Regions from separate parts of the Homo sapiens genome. Here region 1 is linked to region 2. Evidence: promoter capture Hi-C in 16 types of primary human blood cells and fetal thymus (Javierre and others, 2016). All regions are on one chromosome and are shown on one strand. Each heading gives the region's core, a stretch centred on a gene start or on the middle of the fragment in contact. The rest is flanking DNA. Distances are from core to core; before and after follow the strand shown. Region 1 has its middle 60 kb from the start of LRRC8B. Region 2 holds the start of GTF2B (general transcription factor IIB).

Region 1 (5,037 bases), core at 2,226-4,725, 570 kb before region 2:
ATGCTTATCACCTGGGTGATGAAATAATCTGCACATAAAACCCCTGTGATAGGCAATTTACCACATAATAAAACTGCACATGTACCCCGAAACGTAAAATAAAAGTTAAAAAAAATTTAGAAATATTTTGTCTTTCTCTTGAATTAAAACATTTATTTCACAATGGCCATTTTTATCTCATTTCCCTTTTGCTTATCTTCTTCCCCTTCCTGCTTCTCCTTTTCTCCCCTCTCCTTCTTCTCCTCCCACATACCATACATACATTGTTCTAAACAAACCAAAAGAAGTTGCATTTTACTTACAACAAAAGTTAATCCAATTGCTCTGAAAGAAAATTTAATGATTTATAAAACCCAGGTCAGTCTCAAACAAAAAAGAACCCATGTTACATTTCCACGTGACTCCACACGATAGGGGCATTCAGGTAGTAGAAGCTTAGTGGTATGGCCGGTTTGCTATGGCACACAGCTCTTTCTTTGTGGTTGATGATGTGTCTACTAACCACATAATATCTTCATTACCAGTATCACAGAGGTATCACCAGGAAAACTACTTGTGTGACCTGTCCTAACACAATAATTTTTATTTTTAATTGTTCTGGATTTATCCTTCTCACAGAAGTTTCGATATTATACTGAACTTCATTCAGGACAAAAGGATGCTTCCCTAGCACAGCAGGGATGTGGTTTTGTGGTTTTAACATGAGTTGATGGACTGGCTATTATTCTAGATGCTGTTATCCATGATCAGGATTTGCTACAATTGTCATTCTGGACAGCTATTGATTAAAGCCTCTTTGCTTACCAAAAATAGAAAACACACGTTTATTGAGCCTTCATCCTGTGCCAGGCCTTATAGAAGTGTACATCACAGAGGTATTTAGTCCCCAATTTGTTTTGATAGTTCTGTCTAAACTTTTAAAGAAGAAGCCAATTTGGATAACACAAATGGTCATTGCTCAAGTAAAGCTGAAACACCCTGTCATTTGTATGTTCATAAACACTTGCAAAATACTTTCTATGAGTTCCCTAACCCTCAGGATGATGCCAGGGGCAGGTATTATAATTAAGAGCTTCTAGTAAAGGGAGTTGAAGTTTAAAGATATTAAGTGATTTTTCCGAGATCCCTTTAGTGGTGGTAGAGTAGGGTGCTGAGGCATACTGGAAAGGGCATGGCATCAGAGAGACCTGAATTCAACTTCCACCGTCTCTGTCATTTCCTGCGTTACCTTAGACAGGTTCCTGAAATATATCTGATCCTGTTTTTCATATTCCTTGGCTTTGACATGGGGTTCTTGATGGGTTTAAATTAACTAATGAGTGTGGAAGTGTCTGCAACCTGAAAAGTGTTGTCAGAGTGTGAGTCACTCTTATTTAATCTTTAGGTAAGTGATTACAGTGTCACAGACCACATTTCAAGTCAGACAGAACTAGTTGTAACTAGCATGTGCTGCATGAATTTGAGTGTGTTACTTGAGCTCTCTGGGTATGTGTCTCCTCAGCTGTAAAATATGTGTCATAATGCAACCTTGTGTATTGTGAATATTGACCAAAGCCACAGAAGTGAAGCTGTGGTGCACAGCTCACAGGAGGCACTTGGTGAATGTCAAGGCTTCTCTTTCTAGAATCAGCCCAGTGTCTGTATTGGGACAGCACCATCTCCTTAGGAGAGCACTGCCTGCATTAGTCTAGCACAGGAGATCTGTAATGGACTATGCGGGCCATTCCATGGATAAGTAATCTGACCTAGAGAGGTGAACTGACTTTTTCAGGTCATAGAGCTAATGGCAGAGTTGAGAGTTGAACTGCATTCTGATTTCAAATTCAGTAATTTTTTTTAACATTATTAACATTTTCAAAATTCAATAATACATTTTAAAAATTGTCCTTGCCCTGTAAAAGTGATTTGTATTAAGAACACATTCGTATATGTAGATAGCATTGCTAGTGCAGGTGAATCAAACCTGAATTGTTCTACATCACAAATAGCCAGTATAGAAGTTTAAGTGCAGAAAGATTTCTTTGTATATCTTGGGGTATTCTCTGTAACAGAACCACAGTGCTCCCTTGGAAACAAGGTGTCCACTTTTAATGTCTACATTTTACTTGATTTTAAATTCTCTATAGCTATTACTTCAGAGACTTATACTTGTTGACAGCTATGTGTAGTGGAAAGAGCCTAGCACTGAGGCGGTCAAGAGATCTGGATTCTAGTTCTGGATTTGGCATTACTTAGCTATTGTTCGCTGTTGGAAATGTAACTACTACTCCTATGACAGCTTGAAATATCTTGAAGTGAATCTGAATGATTTCTAAGTGTATTAGTTTCCTGTTGCCACTGTAACAAATTACCACAAATTTAGTGGTTTAAAGAACACAATATAAACTCTTACAATTCTGGAGGGTGGTCAGAAGTCCAAAATGGGTCTCATGGGGCTAAAATCAAGGCATTGGATTCTTCTGGAGTCTCTAGGGAAAAATCAGTTTCCTCGCCGTTTTCAGCCCTTAGAGGCCCCTGCACTCCTTGGTCATGGCCCCTTCCTGGGATCACTTCCACCTTTTGCTTCCATCATCATCATGTCTCCTACTCCTCTCTGACTTCTCCAATGTCTTTCGTGTAAATACCCTTTTGACTTTATTGTGCTTCCTTGAGTAATGTAGGAGAAGCCCCTCATCTCAAGATCCTTGACTGGATCACACCTGCAAAGTTTCTTTTACCATACAAGGAAACATTCAGAGGTTTTTGAGGTCAGGATGTGGGCACATCTAAGGGGCATCATTCAGCCTACCAAAGAAACCACAGTGGTCAATGATGGATGATTGGGGAATGCGGTCAGAAAGAATGAACTTATTTTTGGTACCTTCACTTATTTCTTGAATATATGAACAGATAGCAGATAATATAGTGTATGAGATTCAGAGTCATGTAGACCTGCATTAAAACCCCAGCTATACCACTTACTAGCTGTTTGACCTTAGGCAAAAAATATAATTTCTCTGAGTTTCTGCTTCTTCATCTGTAAAATGGGAATAATAATATGAGTTCTATATGTCTGTGCGTGTTTTTGTGTGAGGATTAAAATAACATATGTGAAGCGATTAGTACAATAACTAGTACAGATCAAGGTCTCAGTAAATGAGGCTATCACAACTGAAGCTGAGCCTTGCTTCTAACTCAGTGTACTTCTCAATATTTATCTGTGCAAGGGACCAGTTTTGTTTACTGTTACCTTAATTTTAATATTTTTATCTTTCCCCTCCAGTTATCATTCCCATTTCTTCCCCTGCCTTTTCAATAAGTCCTGTTTAACACACTTGCTATGTGTCTTTGAATGTACATATTTTATATAAAATCATATAGCATTATTTTATACGTGTGTGTTTCTAATTAAATGGGATGTAAAATACATTTAATGTTTCTTATTTTTTTCCACTCACTTTTGTGTTGTTCAAGATTTGTCCATCCAGCATGTTAGTTTTCCTCTCTGGCTATGGTCATCTAGGGTGCTTCAGTATCCCCTGCCATAGATGCCTATGCATTTACATGTCCCTGTAGAGAAGTTGGAAAGAGTTGCTCTGGGATATACATTCAGCAGTTGGAAGAAGGCTTATGGTACAAGTATTGCCAGATTGCTCTCTAGAAAGACTATACCATTTCTTCTTCTACCAGAAGAACAAATGTTCTTGTTTAGCATTGGTTTGCTGACATTTAGTGTTTTCTGACTCTGATTTTTTTTTTTTTTACAGGTGATAGTTACAAAGTGGTATCAGATTTATTTTTTAATTTTTTAACACTAGTAGGGTTGAGCACTATATATTTACTAGTTTTCAGGTTTTTCCATCCTATGGATACAAATAGTATGCATAATTTATATGGATATAAATTATTTGCTCATTATTGGCTTAACTAGCTTTTTGTTTTAGTTGCTTGTTAATTTGTTGGTATGTCTTGAATGTTCTAGATATTACTTCTTTATTGGGTTAATACATTTAAAATTTCTTGTTGAAACCTCTCAGGCTTTTGCTAACTTTATCACATATATATGTGTATATATATATTATAATGTTATATATTCTACATATACCCAGATGTAGATATTACATCAATTTTAGGTGCTGTAACTAGCTTTGCCAAGTCATCTGTATTTTATGGATTTGAGGGTTCCCTTAATGAAAAGAAATTCAACGATTTTCCCTCTATGATGTGTAATTGTTTTGGAGTCTTCTTAAAAAGATCTTTCCCACCCAAGATAAAAAAGATTCTTTCCTATATGGTCTCATTTGGCCTTTCTGAAAAGTAACCAGTTGCAGAAGATGCTCAATTATGTGAAATTAGTAAATATAGAAGAAGCATCAGTTGATTACTGTAGCAGTTCAACACTAAGGAATATGATGGTTGGTTTGGTTAAATTTTACTTAAAGTGATTCAACTTAAACTTGGGGGGAAAAAATCTTAGGTCAACAATTAGTCGGTACTTAGTCTCTGCCAGGTGTGGACTGAACTATCCAAAGCATGCTGGAGTTGGAAAGAGCCAATGGGAGAAATGAGGCAAGGGTCACGCTGAGTTCAGCCCAGAATTTGGGGCATGCTCTACAAAACCGTGCTGCCTAGGGCTGGCCACAGAGTCACTGGGGGCAAAAGGACTAACAAAACTGTAAAAGTGTGTGTTGGGGTAACAGCCATTTTGAAAATGTTTTAATGGTGATAAGAATGCATGTGTCAACCATGGATTAAGAGAATGATAACACTTTGCAGCAGATTTTAGACACACACTGCTTGCTTATGGCGAAATTCCTAGAAAGTTACCTGTGGAGCTTAATAACTTCTAGTCACTTCCTAGTTACCTGGAACCTTTTTAAAGGAAGAGATCATGTATTACTTGTTTGACTTCCTAACATGCAGCACAACACCCAGCACAGAGTAAATGCTTAGCTAACATTTGCTAATGGGATAACAGCAGCAGATTAGTGCAGGGAGCACCTTCATCATCTGTCTATGCTGTAAGGCAACGCAGTCTGAAAGACTGTGTTGAAATAA
Region 2 (4,850 bases), core at 1,164-3,663:
TAAAATGCTTTGTAAATTTCCAGTGCTGTACTAACAAAAGAAAACGAATGGCTTACCTAAGGTGCCTTCTATTTTAATACAAAAGAAATTCTTACAAGTTTATGACAGACAAGAGACTCTCCAGGTGGGGCAGGAGTTAATTTAACCAGTAGTGCTGCCTCCCTTTTCTAGGGTTTCAATTTCTTCCTTCAACAAACATTATTGAATGCCTACCATGAATCCACTAGGTGCAGGTCCATGTTCTGGATCCTTAAGAGATGCACAGTTGTCTTATTCCTCCTCTTCCTCCAAGTTAAGATGCTTTACTATGAAACCTCTACTGGACTGAGGTGCAGCACCCCCAAGCCCTTTCCTGGTTGCACTTGACAAAAATATTGAGGGAGGAAAAAACCCCCACAAGAGTACAGTCAAGTTTTTAAAATTACAGAATTACAAAATAGAAGATTGGGATTGGGAAAGAAAAAAGAAATCATGCTCCCCGGTTCCCACCTAGATTTGAGTTCCTAAAATCCTGCCTCTCGCACCCCTTTTTCTTTCTAAGGAAGCTAGTATCTCCCACCTTCTCAAGAAAACAGTGAGTGCTCCATTACATTTAAATCCCATCCCCAGATGAAGGAAGCAGTCATTATCTTCTAAGTTCTCAGCCCCATGAAAACCACCATGAAAATACCAATCCCCGTATTTTCAAGAATAGTTGTCAGCAAAGTGTTGCCGCAGGAGAATACTGTCTGAAGGCAGGGAACCTAAGGCAGATTCACACTGATTTCCTAGAACTAAATCAAATGGAAAACCCCGGCCGGGCGCGGTGGCTCACGCCTGTAATCCCAGCACTTTGGGAGGCCAAGGCGGGCGGATGACGAGGTCAGGAGATCAAGACCATCCTGGCTAACAGGGTGAAACCCCGTCTCTACTAAAAATACAAAAACAAAATTAGCCGGGCGTGGTGGCAGGCTCCTGTAGTCCCAGCTACTCGGGAGGCTGAGGCAGGAGAATGGCGTGAACCTGGCAGGCGGAGCTTGCAGTGAGCCCAGATCGCGCCACTGCACTCCAGCCTGGGCGACAGAGCAAGACTCCGTCTCAAAAAAAAAAAAAAAAAAGGAAAACCCCAACTTTCCACACCTAAGTAACAAAAGAACCAGACGTTACTCCCTTTGCAACCCCCTCCCCACTACACAACCACACACACACACACACACACACACACACACACTTTAGCCGTGTGGCAGATGTGAAATTGAAAGTATCTCTGATTCGTTGCTTTCTGCAACCAATCAGACGCTTGCATAGGAGTGTAACTTTGTAACTTCACTTTAGCCTCTGATTGGTTGCTTTCCACAACCAATCAGACTGATTGTGGAGCCACTACTTCATTTACATAGGGTGTACACCATGTAACCAATGGGAAACCTCTAGAGGGTATTTAAACCCCCGAAAATTCTGCAAAAGGAGTCTTGAGCTGGTATTACCTTTTCGTTTTCAATAAATCTCTGCCTTTATTCCTTCATTCTTTCCTTAGTTTGTGCGTTGTGTCCAGTTCTTTGTTCAAAACGCCAAGAACGTGAATACTCTCCACCGGTAACTGTTATTGTTGTTAGTAATAGTGGTATTACAATTTTGACGTTAGTTTGGCTAATTAATAAATCTAGGGATATTTTGCAATATCTAGATGTTCTCGCAAGTTTTCTATATGTAGCTATCAGCCAACGTTACAAAGGCCGTGAAAAAAAAATGATCAGAGCATGGCCCATATCGTCGTGCCTCTTGTGTACACATTGGTTTCACGTAGTTTTGTTTCATCTTCTGCCAATTCTAAAAGGGTATGCAAGGCAAGATACCATAACCTATATAAACTTACATGACCTGTATAAAGGACGTGCCTAAGAAGACAACATGCTAGCTGATGACAGATCCTGAACAGACACCTGTTCTGGATGACCTAAGTGAGTTTCTCCTTTTATTTCAAATTTCTTAGAAAGAATCACCCTTGGGGCACGTAAGAACTGGCTCAAATGGGAGTGCCTGACGCGGGGTGGGGGGCTGGGGGCGGGGTAGGTGGTGGCCGTGAGAAGGTAGCCGTGAGAAGGTGGGAGAGGAAGGGGTGGTTAAACTATTAGGGATGCAGGCTTTGGCACCACTACGAAGCCAGGGTTTTCTTTGTGTTTTAACTGTCAGATTGAGAGTAGCTCTGTTGTAGCCCCTTTGCAGGGTTCCCATGAGACTTTTCCTAGGTAGTTACGTTGACTCGCTTAGCAACATAGCAAATTACAGAAACGGAGTAAGAACGTAAGAAATCGCAAAGCACGTGACGTATGGGATCTCACTGTTCTTGGCCCTTCTCCCGACCCGTAGCCCTGCTCTGCTACGACTGCGTGGGTGAGTCGTCTATAAAAACTCATCTCTGCGCGTCTCTTCGCCACATTCGCTTCCTGCTTTCGGTGTGTCTGTTGTGTCTTGTTGCGGGCACCGCAGTCGCCGTGAAGATGGCGTCTACCAGCCGGTTAGTATGTCCCGCCGAGCCCGGCGAGCTGAGGGGCGGGCGCGAGCGCCGCCGGCTTTTAGGCGGCCTCCGGGCAGCCTCGTAGGGCTGAGCGCCTAGGGGTATGGGAGAGAAGCGGCGGGACTGGCCGACGGGCCGGGACAAAGGCACTTCCAGACGGCAGGACTGTCAGGGTGTCGCAGGGGTTACCGAGCTGTTGACGTTATTGCCCTGGAGTCTTATGTAGATATCACCCTATGTGGGTCCTGGTGGGCTACTGTGTCCCCAGTCCTTGCCCTCGTATCTTTTCCCAATATTTCAATCTCCCTTTATTTTCTCTTCTTCCCACCCTCCCTCCTCTCCTCCCCCGCGCCCCCCCCCCCGCTTGTTTTTTTCATCTACGGCCCAAACAACCCGAGGGTCCGTAATTTCTCCTTTTCAAAGGAACGGGAAACAGTTAGTTTCAGGTTCCTATCGATCTGACAGCTAGGAAGTTGGGAACGTCAGCATTGGTAAGCCAGATGGAACCTGGTTGGTTACCATCACAGCGGGCCTCGGAAGTGGAAGCTAGAGCCATCGGAAGAGTTGATTAGTTCCCTGCTAAAGGATTTGTTTACAAATATCGTTGCCTGTGTACTTCTGAAGAAAATCTTGCCAAAGAAAATTAGTTATATGTGCTGGGAGGTCGCTTTTTAGTATATATTTAAGAATGCAGTGTACTCATATCTACAGGAAATGCATGCAGTACCCTCAGAAACAGCCTTTAATCTTGTGACCTGAAAAATGCTTGCAGACCCTAATTATGTCTCTCATTACCACTGTGAGGTAGATATTAGTATTTTTGCATAAGTGTAAACTGAGTCATGCCAATGTTGACTTTTCCAAGAGTCGTGTTAGAGTGTAGAGTCTAAGACAACCTGTTTCCTGTTATCCACACCTGGCCTTTGGTTAACTAATCCTGTGTTGAAAGTATCAAATTAATTCTACAGCTTCTGGAACTCTGGCACTATTTTTCTGACCCTGCTATCATCTGTGGAATTGGTTAATTTCACAGTGAAAGCCATTTTTACAAAATAGCCTTTTCTGGTAACTGCCAAGACTTACATTTTATGATTAGAAAAGGAATTTGGGGTGGGAGGCAGCTTTAGCTAATATACTGTTTGAACAGAACTCATAAAGCCAGTGACACTCTTGTTTACTGATTCTGATTCTTGGATTGGATGCTCAGTCATTCTATCTGGGTGTTGTTCTGTCGGGTAAGGCCTCCTTGTAGGTAAATGGAAAACTTGGGCTCCCCAGATCACTCAAATACGACTTAAAATTCTACCATGGCTTTTTTTTTTTTTAATTCTATCATGGCTTTTTAAGTCTGAAATTTTTTTCTAGATATGTGCAATTTATGTATCATAGCAGTTATTGCTCAAGTTTTTCTATCAGTGACAACAAAGAAAGTTAAATGCAGTATTTTTTATTTTATGGAACAGGCCTGGGCTGAAGTGTAGGTGGCACGATCATGGCTCACTGCAGCCATGACCTCCCCAGTTCAAGTGATCCTCCCACCTCAGCCTTCTGAGTAGCTGGGACCATAGGTACACACCACGTGCCTGGCTAATTTTTTTATTTTTAAATTTTATTAATTTTTATTTTTGTGGAGACAAGGCCTAGTTACATTGCCCAGGCTGGTCCTGAACTCCTGGGTCCAAGCAGTCCTCCGGCTTTGGCCTACCAAAGTGCTGTGGTAACAGGCATGAGCCACTGCGCCCAGCCTAAATATAATATTTCTACCTTTTGCATGTTTTTCCCTCAGGAAGGTGTATTGTCACTAGGCCATGAAACTGGCTGGTGTCCTCACAGAGGAGTACAAATGTTCTGAGTTCAAATGTAAGCTCCGCCACTTATTAGTTCCATGACTTCAGGCAAATCATTCTCTGAGCATAATTTTTTAAATGTGAAATAGTGCCTTTCTTGCAGGATTGTTGTGGAGATTGACAATAATAAATGTATAACACAAGTAATACAGTCCATGCCCAATAAATGATAGCTATAAAATGGGGTTTGGGATTATCTGGTACTTGAGTAGTCTCGAATCGTTTTAATGTCAGTGGTGGTGGTTTCTCTATTCCTCCCTATTGTTTCTCTCTGTTACCACCTTCACCACCCCATTTGTATGGTTCCTCTTCTGTATTGTGGGTAATTTGATTAAGTTTACTAATTTAGCATACTTTTATTTTGATAGGTAACACATACAAATGGTCCAAAAGCAAAATTGCAATAGACTAAAACCATGAAAAGTAGTCTTCCTCCTTTCCTAGCTCCCAGCCATCTAAGTCTCCCTGGATCAGCCATAATTACTAGTCTCTTGGTGTTTTCCTAG

The links. The method cuts DNA at HindIII sites, captures the fragments that hold promoters and counts their contacts. A CHiCAGO score of 5 or more calls a contact.
Region 1: a contact is called between a fragment that was not itself captured here and the fragment with the promoter of GTF2B in region 2, in 1 of 17 cell types (activated CD4 T cells). The highest score is 6.6, in activated CD4 T cells.

Annotation. Positions count from the first base shown.
Region 1 is chr1:89,461,919-89,466,955 of GRCh38, reverse strand. No RefSeq gene overlaps it. Among named protein-coding and RNA genes, the nearest start is that of LRRC8B, 60 kb to the left of the region's middle. The HindIII fragment of the contact is 6,077 bases long and covers 437-5,037 here.
Region 2 is chr1:88,889,130-88,893,979 of GRCh38, reverse strand. It overlaps GTF2B (general transcription factor IIB), which reads left to right and starts at 2,413. Exons shown (of 7, transcript NM_001514.6): 1 at 2,413-2,497. The coding sequence starts at 2,481. RefSeq lists an enhancer at 2,128-2,237. The HindIII fragment of the contact is 16,776 bases long and covers 1-4,850 here.